Linked DNA regions of Homo sapiens: all the other regions are linked to region 1. The links are contacts of gene promoters, found by promoter capture Hi-C in blood cells and fetal thymus (Javierre and others, 2016). All regions are on one chromosome and are shown on one strand. The core of a region is centred on a gene start or on the middle of the fragment in contact, and the rest is flanking DNA. Distances in the headings are between cores, read along the strand shown.

Region 1 (4,775 bases), core at 579-3,078:
ATGTGTGATTTATTTGCTTATTTAACTGCTTTGCTTATTTAATCTCCACTAAAGACAAGAATAAAACACTGCCTGTAAAACCCTATCCCCATAGGGACTGTCTTATTTACAGGGCCTGGTAAGTGGAAGGCACTCAATAAACAGTATCTTTCTATTGAATGAATTTGTATGTGTTCTTTTAAATAAAAGGTACCTTAGGGCATCAAGGGTTATGTGAAATTCTCAACATTAGCAACAGGAAGAACTTTTAACAAAACCAACAGAGATTTTGGACCTGAGAATGGTTAGAGGGCAAAAAGTACCAGAACTAGAAAAAACAAAAACTACCTCCATCTGATTTTAGCTAACATTACAATTCTAAGAGCAAAGTAGTGCTGCTATTTTTTGACATTTGCATCAACAGGATAGATTCAGAAGTTCTCCAGTCTGCTTCCCTTTACAAAACACTAAATAAACAATAAATAAATTTAAAAATATGTAAAGGTTTTAAAATGCCCTAAAATTATTCGAGCAGGGAGTTCGAGGAATACAAAACATCTCTGATTCTGTAGTATAGTTGTATATCGTAGGTATAGTGACCCAATCAAATTATCTTGAAGTTTAGAGTCCAGAAAAAGTACTGGCCCTTTGAAATACCCTAGATGGGGCACTTATTTAATGAGCACTCGCTACATGGTATTTTCACATGTGCAGTTTTGCTGAGTAGCTGTAAGTATTTCAACTTTGCATACGGATTTGAAATCACATCTCTTAGATTGCAAACCTCATGCTACACCAGTGCAGAACTGTAACTCTTCAACTATCATTTCTCAAACGTTTCCTAACAATATACATATGTATTTAAAGCTTTTTAAAAGCCTGCATTCCTAAAGATGACACTCTAAAGAGCAAAATGACTTACGTAAGCATGTCATAACCTGAACTTGGATCTTTAAGTTCTTAGCTGGCTTTCTGAATAAAAAGTACCGATTCAGCTCCTAGCCAATCTGCTCAAACATGCTTCAGAACACTATGCCCGCGGTATTCGGAATTGAAGAGTTTTACAACAATTACGGGGGAAACCATAGTCAGCCTAACAAACTGAGCATGCAATTTCAAAGGAAGTAAAATCTTCGAAGAACCTTCTACCCCACCTGGAGGGCCTGAAAGCAGTGCAGTGCCCCTTGGCGAAACAAACCACAGTTCAGAAACCACTAGATGCACAGGCGGCCAGTGTCCGGCCAGCAAGGCCCAGCTATGGGGCAGGACGGTGCGGGAGCTGCCCCTCTCCCAGCACCCTCCGCCCACGCCGGCACTGTCCTTGAGGGCAGCGCCCCGGGGCTGGGGGCCTGCGCGCCAGCAGCAGCGAAGTTACCTCAAAACGCCCCGGCCTCGGCCCGCCACGGACGGCTCCGAGGAGGCGCCGGGAGCGGGCCCAGTAGGACCCTCTCTGACAGCCCCCGTCCCTCCCCAAGCGCTCTCCCGGGCTGCGGCTCCATCCCTGCGCCGGAAGAGGCGTCCCGAGGCCGGGAGGCCCGCCACGCCGGCACGGGCGCTAAGCCCAGAGTCTGGCGCGGCCCGGACGCCCGGGGAATCTCTCCCGCCAAGTCGCGGGCGCCCAGGCCGGCAGGCAGGAGGGCTGAAGGTCACTGCGGGGAGGCCGGGGGATGGCGGCCTGCGCTCACCATTCGAGCCGCGTTCGGAGGCCAAAACGAGGGCACGGCCGCGCCACCCAAGCCGGGAGCCGAAGCTAAGGCTGCGGCTGGAGCCCGCACGAGGGGACGCGAGCGCGCGAGGAGCCGAAGTGCTCGGTACATGGTGCTGAGGGAGCTTGGGTAGAATTTCTGGGCGGCTGTGGCCACGCCTCCACGCCGGTTGTCAGAAACCGTTCCGCCCACCGGCCTCCGCTCTTATCCAATCAACAGCCTCACACCGACAGGTGGGGCAGGACCAATCGTGAATGACCAGTAAAGAATGAGGGGGCGGGTTAACTTTCTAGTAGTAGTGTGGGGTGTAAGGCCTTCGGATTCATGGGAAACTAGAAAGAAGGGAATTATGGGAAAGGAGGCTCAGGTTATTCTTGGAGCCGGTCTGATTTTTACGTGTGGCTGTTAGAAGGCGGGAGTATTAGTTGGTGAATCAGGTCGTGTTTGGTTGGTGAAATATCCTAGAAAGAAATATTTATTGTTTTATTTATCATGTAATCACTCATTACACGTTCTTACTACTGAAATCTTTCTTCATTTCTTCCAGATTGTATCTTCTGTGTAGAAATTTTGGGAAGTGCAGCAAAGTGTAGATAATGAAATAGTAATTATTCATAATCCCACAACTGAAAAATAAGCTACTTACTTATTTCTTTTAACTTATCATTTTGAGATCGCTACCGTTTCCTTTCTCTTCTTAGCCTATACCCTCAGAACTCTTTTTTTTTTTTTAATGTATTGTGGAAGACGTACACAATTATAGGGAACCTCGGAATTTTTATTATTTGTATATCGTTCTCCCAGTTTTTTGCATAGCTAATTTATACATTTTCAAATTAAAGGCATATTGTTTTAATATAATAGTTGATTACAGAAAAGCAGGAATTGATATAAAATTGCATCTGAACCACAGTTTTATCTTTTCTCTTTTCTATTGCTTGGAACCAGATGACAGTAAAGAGAGAGCGATCGGATGTTCTTAAAATCAAAAGTCCAGAACCTGCAAAGCCAAATTTATGAGTCAAACTTACAAACTTGCCAAACCTTTTGGTAACATTATGTTATTTTGTGACTTATAAATTTGACACATATTTAAAATATAAAAATTCAAATGAGATTGTAATAGTTGAACTACAATCAAAACACACTAGAAAACTGAATGCAAATTCTTTAAAACATTGCTAATAATGGAATGACGTTTTGTTTTTGTTCTCCTCCTTCCCAGCAGGTATCATTATTGTGTATATCATTATTTTGATGCATCCTTTCAGTTCTGTGTATTTTTTGCTTCATACACTAATATACAAACAATGGTTTTAATATTTTACTTTAAAGTTTTACTGTTGCATAATTGAACTCTATGCTTTTAAGATATAGCCATGATCTTTTAAAATTAATCATATTGGATCACATGAATATGAAATATTTTATTTATCCAGTTTCTTAATAAAGAACATTTTTCTTTGCTATTACACAAAATTATTTAATGAACATATGTTTATCATTTCTTCATAGATCATCTCTTTCTTCATTGTGTGGTGCCCCTCTTTATTGTTATTGTTGCTTGTCCTTTTAAACTTTTTTTAATATTGATATTTCTCTACCAATTTCATATTGGCTATTATTTGCCTGCTGTATATTTCTCATTTTATTTTATTTTTTGTTTCATTTTTGTTTCGAGCATGTCTCTTATTTCTACCATACAGTTTAACTTTTCAAAACCCAAATTAATAGCCTTTTTATAAATAGGTTATTTTAATCCCTTTTAAAAATTACCTATGACACATATTATGTTCTAGAATTTTTCAAAGCACTTTATATGTATTAATTCTTGGAACACTCAAAAACAACCCTATGAGATAGGTCCTATTATTATTCCTGTACATAGAAGAGAAAAATTGATGCCCAGGAACATCCACATATTTATTTGTGTGTTTTACTTCGATTTATTAGTGAAACTGATTTTCTATCTGCAGTAGTAATATGAAGTTCCATTTTTAATTATTCATTTTATTTGAAGTAAAATATTCAGTATAATATGAAGATGCTATATAAATGACTAAAATTTAGGAAATATTAACTTAGCTAATTTATTTTTATTAATTCGTAATAAAACGTACATAAAGCCTTTAATAAAGGCTAGATATCTTCATTTTAGAATGACTTATGTTATCTATTTGAAATAATGTTTTTACTTTGCTTAGAGTTTGGGTTTTTTTTTTTTAACTTTGGACTTGTCTGATAATAATATTGACCTGCTTTCTTCTTGTTGATGCTTGCCTGGTTTGTTCTTGTTTGTTTTACTTTGCTTTCTGTTTAAGGTAGGGGATGTGATTGGTGTCCTGCTGAGGGACAAGGGAAAAGTGCAATGGTTTTCTCTTGCCTGTGTTCTAAATCTCAACACCTGGCTGACAAAATTGATTGCGAGGTTCAAATTGTATCAATCAAAATGTTCTCCTTATTCAAACTAAAGACTTTTGCAAATTCTAATTTAGGATACCTCCCAGCCTGGGAGATTACCAGTGGGTTTCCTAGAGGAAGCTTAACAGAAAATTTGCAAGATACACCCATAAAAGTCTCCCAGAAAGTAGAGCAAATATTCAAAGAGAAGGAAAATAAAAGAAGTAAATAAAATTAGAGAAACAGTTCAGTATGTCCAACATGTGAATAATGTAGGGGAAACATTAGGAAAAAATGGAATAAACCTTAAAAAAATAAATTCAGAAAAATATATTGTAGAACTAGCAGATATGAACTAGCCAGAATGAGTTATGTCAACAAGAAATGTTAGAATACCAAGGGCAAAGAGAAGAGACTGGAATCTTTCAGAGAGAAAAATAAATAAGCAAAGGATTAGAAATCCTTAGACTTCACAACAACAATATCGGAAGCCAGACAGCAGTTGAATGATGTCTTCAAATTGTTAACGGAAAATTATTTCCAACTTTATATTCTATACCCAGAGAAATCAAGTGTGTGAAGAGAATTAAAATGTTTTCACATGATCAAGATGTCAAAAAATTTACTTCTTATCTACACTTTTCAAGAAAACGCCTCAAGTAAGTGCTCCACCGTAACTAGGAGTAAACA
Region 2 (4,775 bases), core at 1,694-4,193, about 55 Mb before region 1:
GGCGGGAGAATCGCTCGAGGCCAGGAGTTCAAGACCAGCCTGGCCAACATGGCGAACCACTGTATCTACTAAAAATACAAAAATTAGCTGGGCCTGGTGGTACATGCCTGTAATTCCAGCTACTCAGGAGGCTGAGGCGCAAGAATCGCTTGAACCCAAGAGGCAGAGGTTGCAGAGAGCCAAGATTGCACCACTGCATTCCAGCCTGGGCAACACAGTGAGACTCTGTCTCCAAAAAAAAAGGAAAAAAAAAATTAATTACACCTTTATAGAGATCTTTCCTAATGTTCTGATGTTTGCTTTCTTAAAGCAGAAGCAGTCTACAGCCAGACCACCCTGAAGGCACCCCATCTCGTCTGATCTCGGAAGCTAAGCAGGGTGGGGCCTGGTCAGAACTTGGATGGGAAAAGCAAAGCACAAGACATATCATCCTCCTAAGAAATGTCAGGATCTTTAACATCTTGTGAACTTTCTAAAACTTAATGATGTAAGAAAAGTAAGAAAGAGATTAGCTATCAATCTTTTATAGGAATTAGGCCTTAAAGGGGAAATATCCTGAGATTCATAGATATTTATAAAAATTATTAAAAAATGGAGTTAAAACATAAATATAATGAAATCAATAGGCTTCGATTCTTCAACATAAAAACAAGCCACTCTCTACTTCTTTAGTTGCATAATGCTTTCACCTTTTTAAAAAGATTTCAAGAACTCTTATCTCATTTGATTTACAAAGCTGTCTAGGTAGACAGACATGTGGGTCTAACCATTTTATAAACAATAATCAGATACTGTTAAGATTTACATGTGGCAAAAGCAATTTTAATAGCAAAATCAGAATAAGAATCCAGACCTCCTGACCATTAAATTCTGTGTTCTCACAAAATCTTTACCACTAAGTGAAAAATCAAAATATCACCATAATAAAAACCAATGATGCTTAATCAATATTTTCATGTTTAGTAAGCAAATGTTTCCAAAGTATATAAAGGAGTCTCTGAAGATTTCGATACTCCGAGAATACTTACAAAGATGAATTAAATACTTACTGAGTTTCTCTAGCTCAAGCCGCAAGCTTTGACACTCTCGGGTTTCATTCACAAGTCTCTCCTGACTGTGGGACAACCTCTTTTCTATTTCAAAATACTGTTGTTCTACAGCAGACAAGCAAAAAACAAAAAACAAAATCAAACACATGTACATACATTGTGAATACTGTTATTTATTTCTAATAACCTTGATTTTAAAACTTAAGATACAGTATTAGAATTGTGCTCCACATAAGAGAATCTGAGTAAAGATAAATAGACTGAGCACTGAAAAGGACTTAAAGCATTTCCAAACGACTTACATGACAAAAAATAAAAAATAAAAATAAGGCCTAAAAGGGGCTTTACAAATCAATGTCTTCAAGGCAGGTAACCTCATTTATCTTAGTATTTTCTCCAGACATCAGTAAACTGCTTAATAAATAAAGTATTTATTACACGAGAAAAAATTGTTTAGACAAAAAAAAACTCCTTTGTTTTAAAAGACTTCTTTTATAGTAGTCAAGATATTACCTGAAAGCATAAAACTACTAAATATATGTAAAAGTAAATGTGTAAACTTTCCAAGGGAAGGGATTGAATATCATGTTCAGCATAGTATCAGGAACATGTAAGACATTCAATATTTATGGTGCAAATTAATAAATAGAATGCAATGTACTATACTCAGCTCTGGGATCAGAGAACTAATTTTCAAGGTCAATTCTGCTTGACAGTTACACTTTTTTTGAAGTAAAAACTTGTTCAGAATTTCCAGTCAACTTAGCAAGAACAGTATGAACCTCCCCAAACAAATGGTAAACCAAAACACATTAACGGGAAGTTTGTATTTTACTAATGGTAATGACTATATTCTTCATATTTTTTTCAAGGATGTTCAAGCCATTATTGTCAGTAACTTTCTTACTTAAAGGCCTACTTTAGGTAATTACAAGAAAATTTTAATGTTTTCTATCAAACTCCAACTTTTTAAGAGAAATCAAGATATATTAAATTTATGTACTGCACATTCACTGTGTTTCCAGCGCTCTTATGCACCTAATATTCATTTTTGTAAACATCTGATTCGTTCTGGAGCCACGGGACGACGCACACACTAAGAACAAGTGCACAGAGTGGTCAATTTGGCAAAGGCCTAGAATGCAGGTGCCTAGAAAATAGGGCGGAGCCACTATCAGTTGAAGTGCAACAAAACATATAAGGTACTCTAGGCTTAGAGAGATGGGTTCGCAGACTCTATCAAGTCTGTTTCCCGTCTGCCGGACGAAGGAAAATAAGCGTCCCTGTATGAGCCTACCCTAACTACAAAGAAAATGCTACTGAACTTAGATTCAGATTTTTTTTTCAAAGGCTTCTTATCAAACTGTAAGGAGCAGGAAAGCGAAGGCTCAGGATATCCACAGAGCCCAGGAAGTGAGGTTAACAGAGCGGTACCCAGTGCCAACTTGATGGGGGAAGACCAGACCCAAAGGGCGGGAGTCGAGCCCAAAACCAAGGACGGAAAGAGCATCTCACTTACCGCTCTCCACCTTAAATTTCTCATGCCGCCCCTTCAGGCCATCGATCTCGGATTGCTGATCAGCAAGGAACTTTTCAAGTTTGTTCTGGACAGACTTGGGCAGCTTGTTCAGCTCCGTGCGCTCCAGGACTTGCTGCAACACCGCCGCCATGTCGGTGGGGCCAGGGACCCCAGTGGCAGCGGCCGACGGGGTAGAAGCGGAGAAGAAAGGCGAAGACCAGCAGGACCCAGACGCCTGGGCCGCCGCCTCTATCACCTCGCTCGGTGGCTCGCGCGCGCCCGCCCGCCGGAGACTCCCGCGGCGGGACCCTGGGAAATCGAGTCCACCCTCAGCGGCAGCGTTTCAGCAACAGCACCTCACCGCCCGCGACCGAAGTGCGCGCGCAGCCGTTGGAAGCTACGAACCCTGGGAACCCGAGCTCAGAGGCTATCCCTGATCCTCTTGCGCACCCAATTTTCCGGCTTCCAGCTCCACCCACTTCAGGCCTTGTAGGGCTCTGGGAAATGTAGTGTTTTTCTCATTCTTTTCCGGGAGCCCAATGCTGCACCGCCCTCTCAGCTTCCGTTTTTCTCCCCGCTCCCCTGGCTCTCCTATCTCGGCCCCGTAACCGCTGTCCGCACGGTGGCGCCACATACGTACTCGTCACCCCTTGGCCCTCCCTGAAGAGCTGGTGACCTTACCGTCAAAGCCCCGGGATGCCATGGATCGTCCTCGTTGGCGGCTTCTGGACACTGAGCCACTAGAGGGCATCGGTCCCGGTAGGGCCGGACGGCAGGCTCCGGGATACCGCCACGCTCTCTATGGCGCCCAGAAGGGGGCGGGGTGGCGACCGCAGTCGCTTTGGCTGAGGCTCTGCGGGGAAGGGAGGGGGGGCTTTTACGTCATCAATCTGCGCCACCTGACTCCCAAGTCCCTGGCTTTGGAGTGGGAAGTGAGGTGTGGGAAGTAGGTCGCTTTCTGATGAATTCAGTGGCAGTGAATTGAGACCGGAGGGAATCTGGCCCCTAGAGGCTGGTACTTGGGCCCGAAACCCCCATCTCCGGCGGAGAGACCGTCCGAGGTAATTGTCTGCCACGAGTGCACATTCTGAAAACAGGTAAGTCAGCCTAAGTGTAGTGTGTGTGTGTGTGTGTGTGTGTGTGTGCTCTCTTTTCAAGAGAAAAAGGAAGGGACAGTGTTGGAACCATATGGACAGTCACTCCGGCACACACTTCTGACGAACTTACCTTGTGTGAAACGGCGTACCTAAATGGTTTTTGGTGGTGGGGAGGTGGCACTGAGTGATTCAGTACCCGGGAATTTAAGGACCCGGGTTAATTCTTCAGGAGGAGAATTAAAAGAAACCGGTAGCACTTTGAGTGTAGCCTATGTTTTAAATTTTTCGTTGCAGAAACGGTTACCTAACATTATATTGTTTTTAAAATTGAAAACTGTTGTAACTGAAGTTTTTAAACACATTGTTAATTTCTACAGTAACAGAACTTGTATGGTTCCAGATCATAATTCTGTAGTTTTAAAGCTCAATCCGTAGATTGTTTCGTGTTTACTCTTATGAAAGAATTTGTTAAATTATTCATTGTAAATAATGCATTCCCAGTGTCGTCTCTCTGCAGTTCCCACAGTCGTGGGCCTTCTGTGAATTGGTGATTTAGTTCTTATATGAAATTTATTCTTTTTCTCTAGTTCTTACTTTTGAATCATGTTGTGAAGCCGTCTAAGAAATATAAATGGAAGCATTTTATGATATTTTGTAATAACTAAGGAAAAATAAATCAACAGCGGAGCTTAAGGTTGATTTTTCCCCAAAAATATTTTTTAGATAAGCATTGTAATTAAAGTTGCTGGTATATGAAGTATTATGCTATGTCCTAAGCCCACAGTATTATCATACTGTTGATCTGTCATTTGGGAAATGTAGATTTTTCTGTACTTAGATTCACAGAATCCTAAAATTAGATAGGTTTTCAGATCTGCTAGGATTCAAATGCTTTATTTTATAGATTAGGAAACCAGAGCCCAGAAAGGTTGAGTTGTGTCAGTCACAGTGCTTGGACCACAAAGGCTTTGGCTGATATACAACATTTCTGGAAAATTATGACCCTATAAGGCAAAATACAGTTGTCCCTTGGTATCCGTGGGGCATTGGTTCCAGGACCCTCTCACCTGCCCACCCCATGGATATGAAATCCATGGATGCTCCAGTTCC
Region 3 (4,775 bases), core at 1,319-3,818, about 22 Mb before region 1:
AAATACCCCCGCCATTGTCACCATCAATTTAATTGCCTTGCCATAGTACAGAGTCTCTTCTTCATTGGCTGACTGACCTCAGTACTCCAATCACACATGCCGCACTTTAAGCTACCAGCCTTCCTGTATCATGGCTCTTTTGTTTCCTTGTCTTTTATGACCTAGTTATTTCTTGCTCATGGTCATGTTCTAGCTTTGCTTGGTTCTCACTACAAGATTTGACATTGGGCTTTGTAATTTTCAAAAATTTTGCTTCCCACACTAAGCTGAAAACCAGGCCTAATATTGTGATCCTGACCCTGGCCTTGGCTGGTTTTCTCCAAGAGGTGGCCTGTCACCTGTGTACCTCTGGTTACTGCTTACATGCCAGAGTAACAAGTAGATGCCAGAGGAGTGTAGCGCTTTCCTCTCTGTTCATCCTTCCTGTTCAAAATATAACTCAATTAAAAGCATAATTTAACTCCAACAAGTAATATCTGAGACACTGTTCTAGGTATTTCAGGAGGATACAAAGAAATAAAACAGTTCTTGCTATTAAGGCAACTACAATTTAGTAGTTCACAGGACTAGCCATGCAGGAAAAGTACTTAAACCTAGGTTTTCGTACCTCAAATCCATCGCACCTTCTACCACAGCTCAATGACAATTTTGTTTATAATTATTTTGAAATTGTGTATGTGTTTTCAGGTTTGCAAGAGTGTCTAATAAAGATATTTGTTTTCACTTATATTATTTTATTTTGTTAACCCCTGTGAAGGAAAACTAAATAAATGCATATGAATGAAAATATATAATGAATGACAAACTAACATTTTGAATAATCACTGCTTTAAACTTCTCTTGTCACTTGCATCCTTTTTCTATTGTGATAAAAAGCACATAATGTAAAATGATCTTAACCATTTTTAAGTGTACAGTTCAGTAGTGTTAAGTATATTCACATTGTTATGAAACAAATCTCCTGAACTTTGTCATCTTGCAAATCTGAAAATTTATATCCATTAAACTACTAATCCCCTTTTCCTCCTCTCTCCGGCTCCTGGTAACCACCATTATACTTTTTTTTCTATGAATTTGACTACTTCAGATATTTCATATAAGGGAAAGCATACAGTATTCATCTTTTTGTGACTGCTTTATTCAACTTAACATAATGTCCTCAAGATTCATCCATGTTGTAGCATGTGACAGGATGTTTTTCCTTTTTAAGGCTGAATAATATTCCATTACATGTATATATAATATTTTATTTATCCATTTATCTGTTGATGGACATTTGGGTTGCGTCCATCTCTTGGTTGTTGTGAATAGCACAGCTATGAGCATGAGTGTACAAGTACATCTTTGAGCCCCTGCTTTCAATACTTTTCGGTATATACACCTGCATCCATTTTTAACCTACACAAAGAATATCTGCTCTTGAAGACTGACACTTTGCCATCAATCTATAAGAAAGTAAATTCTTTGGAAATATGATAAGACAAAATAATTGTATTAATTTGCCTTTCAAATATAAACTAAGGTAGATTTTTCAAAGCGTCTCGATTTTCTTCATATATAGTTATAATAAAAGAAAATCCATTGTCATACCTTGATGCCAATTATACATATATAGAAAATATTCATAAATATATATACACAGAGAAATATGCACATACACAGACACAACCTGAAAATAGTCTACTTCAGAATAAAGTGCACTTCCATTTTTCAAATTGCAAAAATTGACTTTATATTTTCTAATTATCTTTTTTTAAAGGTCTTTTTAAATTTTTTTTCCTGGCTTTTAAAAGTAATCACAGAAAGAGTAGGAAGAGATTAAGGCTGCTAAACTCAGCCATACAAGGAGGAAGGAGAATCACATGTGCTGATCTTTCTCATACTACTAACTAAAAGTTTATGTAGTGCAATTAAGAGTTTTGAACCATTATTTTATAAGTAGAGTTAAACATCAGAGGTATATTCATAAATGAGTGGCACATGTCACATATTTAAATTCTTTCAGGATCTCAGAATGACAGAACCTGGGGCTTCTCCATCAAGTCCTGCTCCCTTATTTCACAATTGGAGAAACGTGTCCAATGAGACTAAATGGCCTGTCTAATTTACATAGCTTGTCATCCCCGAGGCTGGAACAGGAACTCCTATCATTTCATTACTTCAACATTTTTTATATCTACCTATCTAATCTTCTCTTAAATGAATGTAGCAAAATACAGTAGATATTCTGACTGCATTCATAAGGAAATTACTCTTTTGGCTTTTATTTCTTTTCTTTGTAATAGACGTATGCAATGCAATGACTTCCCCTCATCTCATGGTAGGATTTGAACTTCCCTGCCCTCAAGGGCCCAAAACCTGATTAGGGGTTGCTGTTGATTCTTGCCCTGGATTTCAAAAGCCTGAAAATTTGTTATAGAAGAAAAAAGTAATAGGTTCTAGAGTACAGAGACAAATATGAAGATTGCAGGAGGGATTCCTCAGACTCATATAAGCACTGAGTGGAAGTTGAATAAGAAGTGTTTCCAGAGGGTAACTTAGGAATTTGAGAACTGGCCATAAGAGGTGTCCAAATGGAAGAAGACCCATTTCCCAGAAAAGAGGAGACAAATGGCAATGCAAAGAACATTGTTCTGGTGTCCAAGCATAAACACTGACCCTGTAGCCTGCACCCAAGGGAGGAAAGTTCACTGTCCTCCTCTAGGGCCTACATACTGCTTTGGTGTGTATCATGTTGACTGTTAATAATCCAGCAGAGTAATCACTATCCATTCTCCAAGGCTGCGTTTGGTCTGTGTTTGAGGAGCTCATGTATTCCCCTACCCCTACTGCCAATGCCATCTCAGTCCATCTCACAATGCCCCACGTGACCCATCTGCTCTAAAAAGAGAATGAGACCATGCACATCTAGTAGTAAGGTAAAGTAGAGGAATGACCCATATCTGTATCTGGAAAGACTGGACTGAAAAAGATTAAGGTCCCCAGAACTGAGGCAATGATTATGTTAAAGTTTATAATCTCATTTATAAAAAGTATAGTTTTGCTGTTTTGTAAGAATTCAGGACCTTTAAGTTTGTTTCTAGTTTTTCTTTCATGAATGGACAGGGGGAATGCATAAAAGAAATCATTTTATTTATCTATGACAAAATGTTAAATTACCTAAAGCTGAAGCTGAAGCATTTTGTGCAATGTGTATATATTGTTTATATATATATGTGTGTGTGTGTGTGTGTGTGTGTGTGTGTGTGTGTTTCTCTCTCTCTGAATGATGCAACAGATGAAAACTAACCAATAGAGAGGATATGGTTTGATGCTTAAGAATGAGCCAAACAACAAACGGGAAACTGTGTACTGTCTGCGTGACAAATGCAACTTCATTTAACTGTTATCATTTGAAAATACCAAGTATACTAATCTTGTTCATTGTTTTTGTTTCTTTTTTGAGACAGAGTCTTGCTCTGTCACCCAGGCTGGAGTTCAGTGGTGAGATCTTGGCTCACTGCAACCTCTGCCTCGGGGTTCAATCAATTATTGTGTCTCAGCCACCGGAGTAGCTGGGATTACAGGCATGCGCCATGATGCTCGGCTAAGTTTTTTTGTATTTTTAGTACAGATGGGGTTTCGCCATGTTGGCCAGGCTGGTCTTAAACTCCTGGCCTGAAGTGAACCGCCTGCCTTGGCCTCCCAAAGTGCTGGGATTACAGTAAGCCACTGCACCCAGGCAAAATATACTAATCTTAATGGCTGAACTTTCAATTGCTTTTCTGTTTTGAAAACTAAGTGTGGCCTAAAGCATTTCTCAACACACTGAAGAACAGTAAACTAAACTCCGACTTTGCCATTTATATCGTTAGATCCTAATTGATATTGAAACCCTGCAAAACAGGAGAACTTTTTCTTTTTCTTTTATTTTGTTTACTTGCTTTTTTAAGTTTAGAACTGAAGTTACCAAAAGGAGGTGCATATAGATTGGCAGAAAGCAAATGAGTAGCAACAAAAAATAATTAGGAGCTATATAAAGAGTAAAAGAATGTATGAATAGGAATCTTCCAGTGATAATATTCCCCCACCTTCAATAGGGCAAAAGATCCACCACAAAAGCAAATAGTCATCTTGAAACTTAATTACATTTCAAAGTAGTACAGTAACATGAAAGGAACAAAACATTTTTGTTCAACAGTTTGCCTACCAGATGGGATCTCTAAATATAGGTAATCTAAAACCTTTGCTTGTCCTATAAACAAATACAGATGAAAGGAATAGCAACAATAGCTAAGCATTTAAATCACTGGAAATAAAATAGCACTTTGGTTAAGTGTGGAAGAATCTGGCTCATTCTAATAATGAATCTGGGAAGGCTGGAGTTCTCAGTGAAATTCAGAATACAGAAGGTTGCTTCTGGTATTTACCACCTGCTTATCTACCTGTTTAAACTGGTAGAATAGTTGGAAGAACAAATCAGGAACTAATAGCAGTAGACTTGGGAAAAACTAAAGAAGCACAGGAACACCTAATAAATAGAGACTCTAAAGGGCCACAATACAAATTCCAGACTTTTGTTTTTGAAATAAGAGTTGCGACATGCCCTTGCTTCATTTCTGTGCACTCATGTGTAAATGTGGGTAATAGTTAAGAACCTATGCTCTGGAGTCAAGCCCAGCATGTGAATCCAGGTTCTACAATTGACTGGCACTATGACTTTGAGCCAGGTTCCTTACCTCTTTGAGCCTCATTGACAAAAGCAGATAGTAATAGTACTGAGTTTTATTGGAATT

The links. Contacts are between HindIII fragments. The CHiCAGO score rates a contact against its expected background, and 5 or more counts as called.
Region 2: a contact is called between the fragment with the promoter of TPR here and the fragment with the promoter of FH in region 1, in 1 of 17 cell types (total CD4 T cells). The highest score is 7.1, in total CD4 T cells.
Region 3: a contact is called between a fragment that was not itself captured here and the fragment with the promoter of FH in region 1, in 1 of 17 cell types (non-activated CD4 T cells). The highest score is 10.7, in non-activated CD4 T cells.

The regions. Positions count from the first base shown.
Region 1 is chr1:241,517,927-241,522,701 of GRCh38, forward strand. FH (fumarate hydratase) reads right to left here and starts at 1,829. Exons shown (of 10, transcript NM_000143.4): 1 at 1,665-1,829. The coding sequence starts at 1,796. RefSeq lists silencers at 1,264-1,533, 1,709-1,991, 1,814-1,943 and an enhancer at 1,607-2,203. The HindIII fragment of the contact is 3,380 bases long and covers 845-4,224 here.
Region 2 is chr1:186,372,310-186,377,084 of GRCh38, forward strand. TPR (translocated promoter region, nuclear basket protein) reads right to left here and starts at 2,944. Exons shown (of 51, transcript NM_003292.3): 1 at 2,569-2,944; 2 at 1,050-1,154. The coding sequence starts at 2,719. It overlaps ODR4 (odr-4 GPCR localization factor homolog), which reads left to right and starts at 3,529. Exons shown (of 14, transcript NM_017847.6): 1 at 3,529-3,665. RefSeq lists a silencer at 2,079-2,128 and enhancers at 2,689-2,988, 3,149-3,198, 3,369-3,558. The HindIII fragment of the contact is 6,872 bases long and covers 1,074-4,775 here.
Region 3 is chr1:219,167,133-219,171,907 of GRCh38, forward strand. All of the region lies in intron 1 of LYPLAL1-DT (LYPLAL1 divergent transcript), which reads right to left. Among named protein-coding and RNA genes, the nearest start is that of LYPLAL1-DT, 4.3 kb to the right of the region's middle. The HindIII fragment of the contact is 5,683 bases long and covers 1-4,775 here.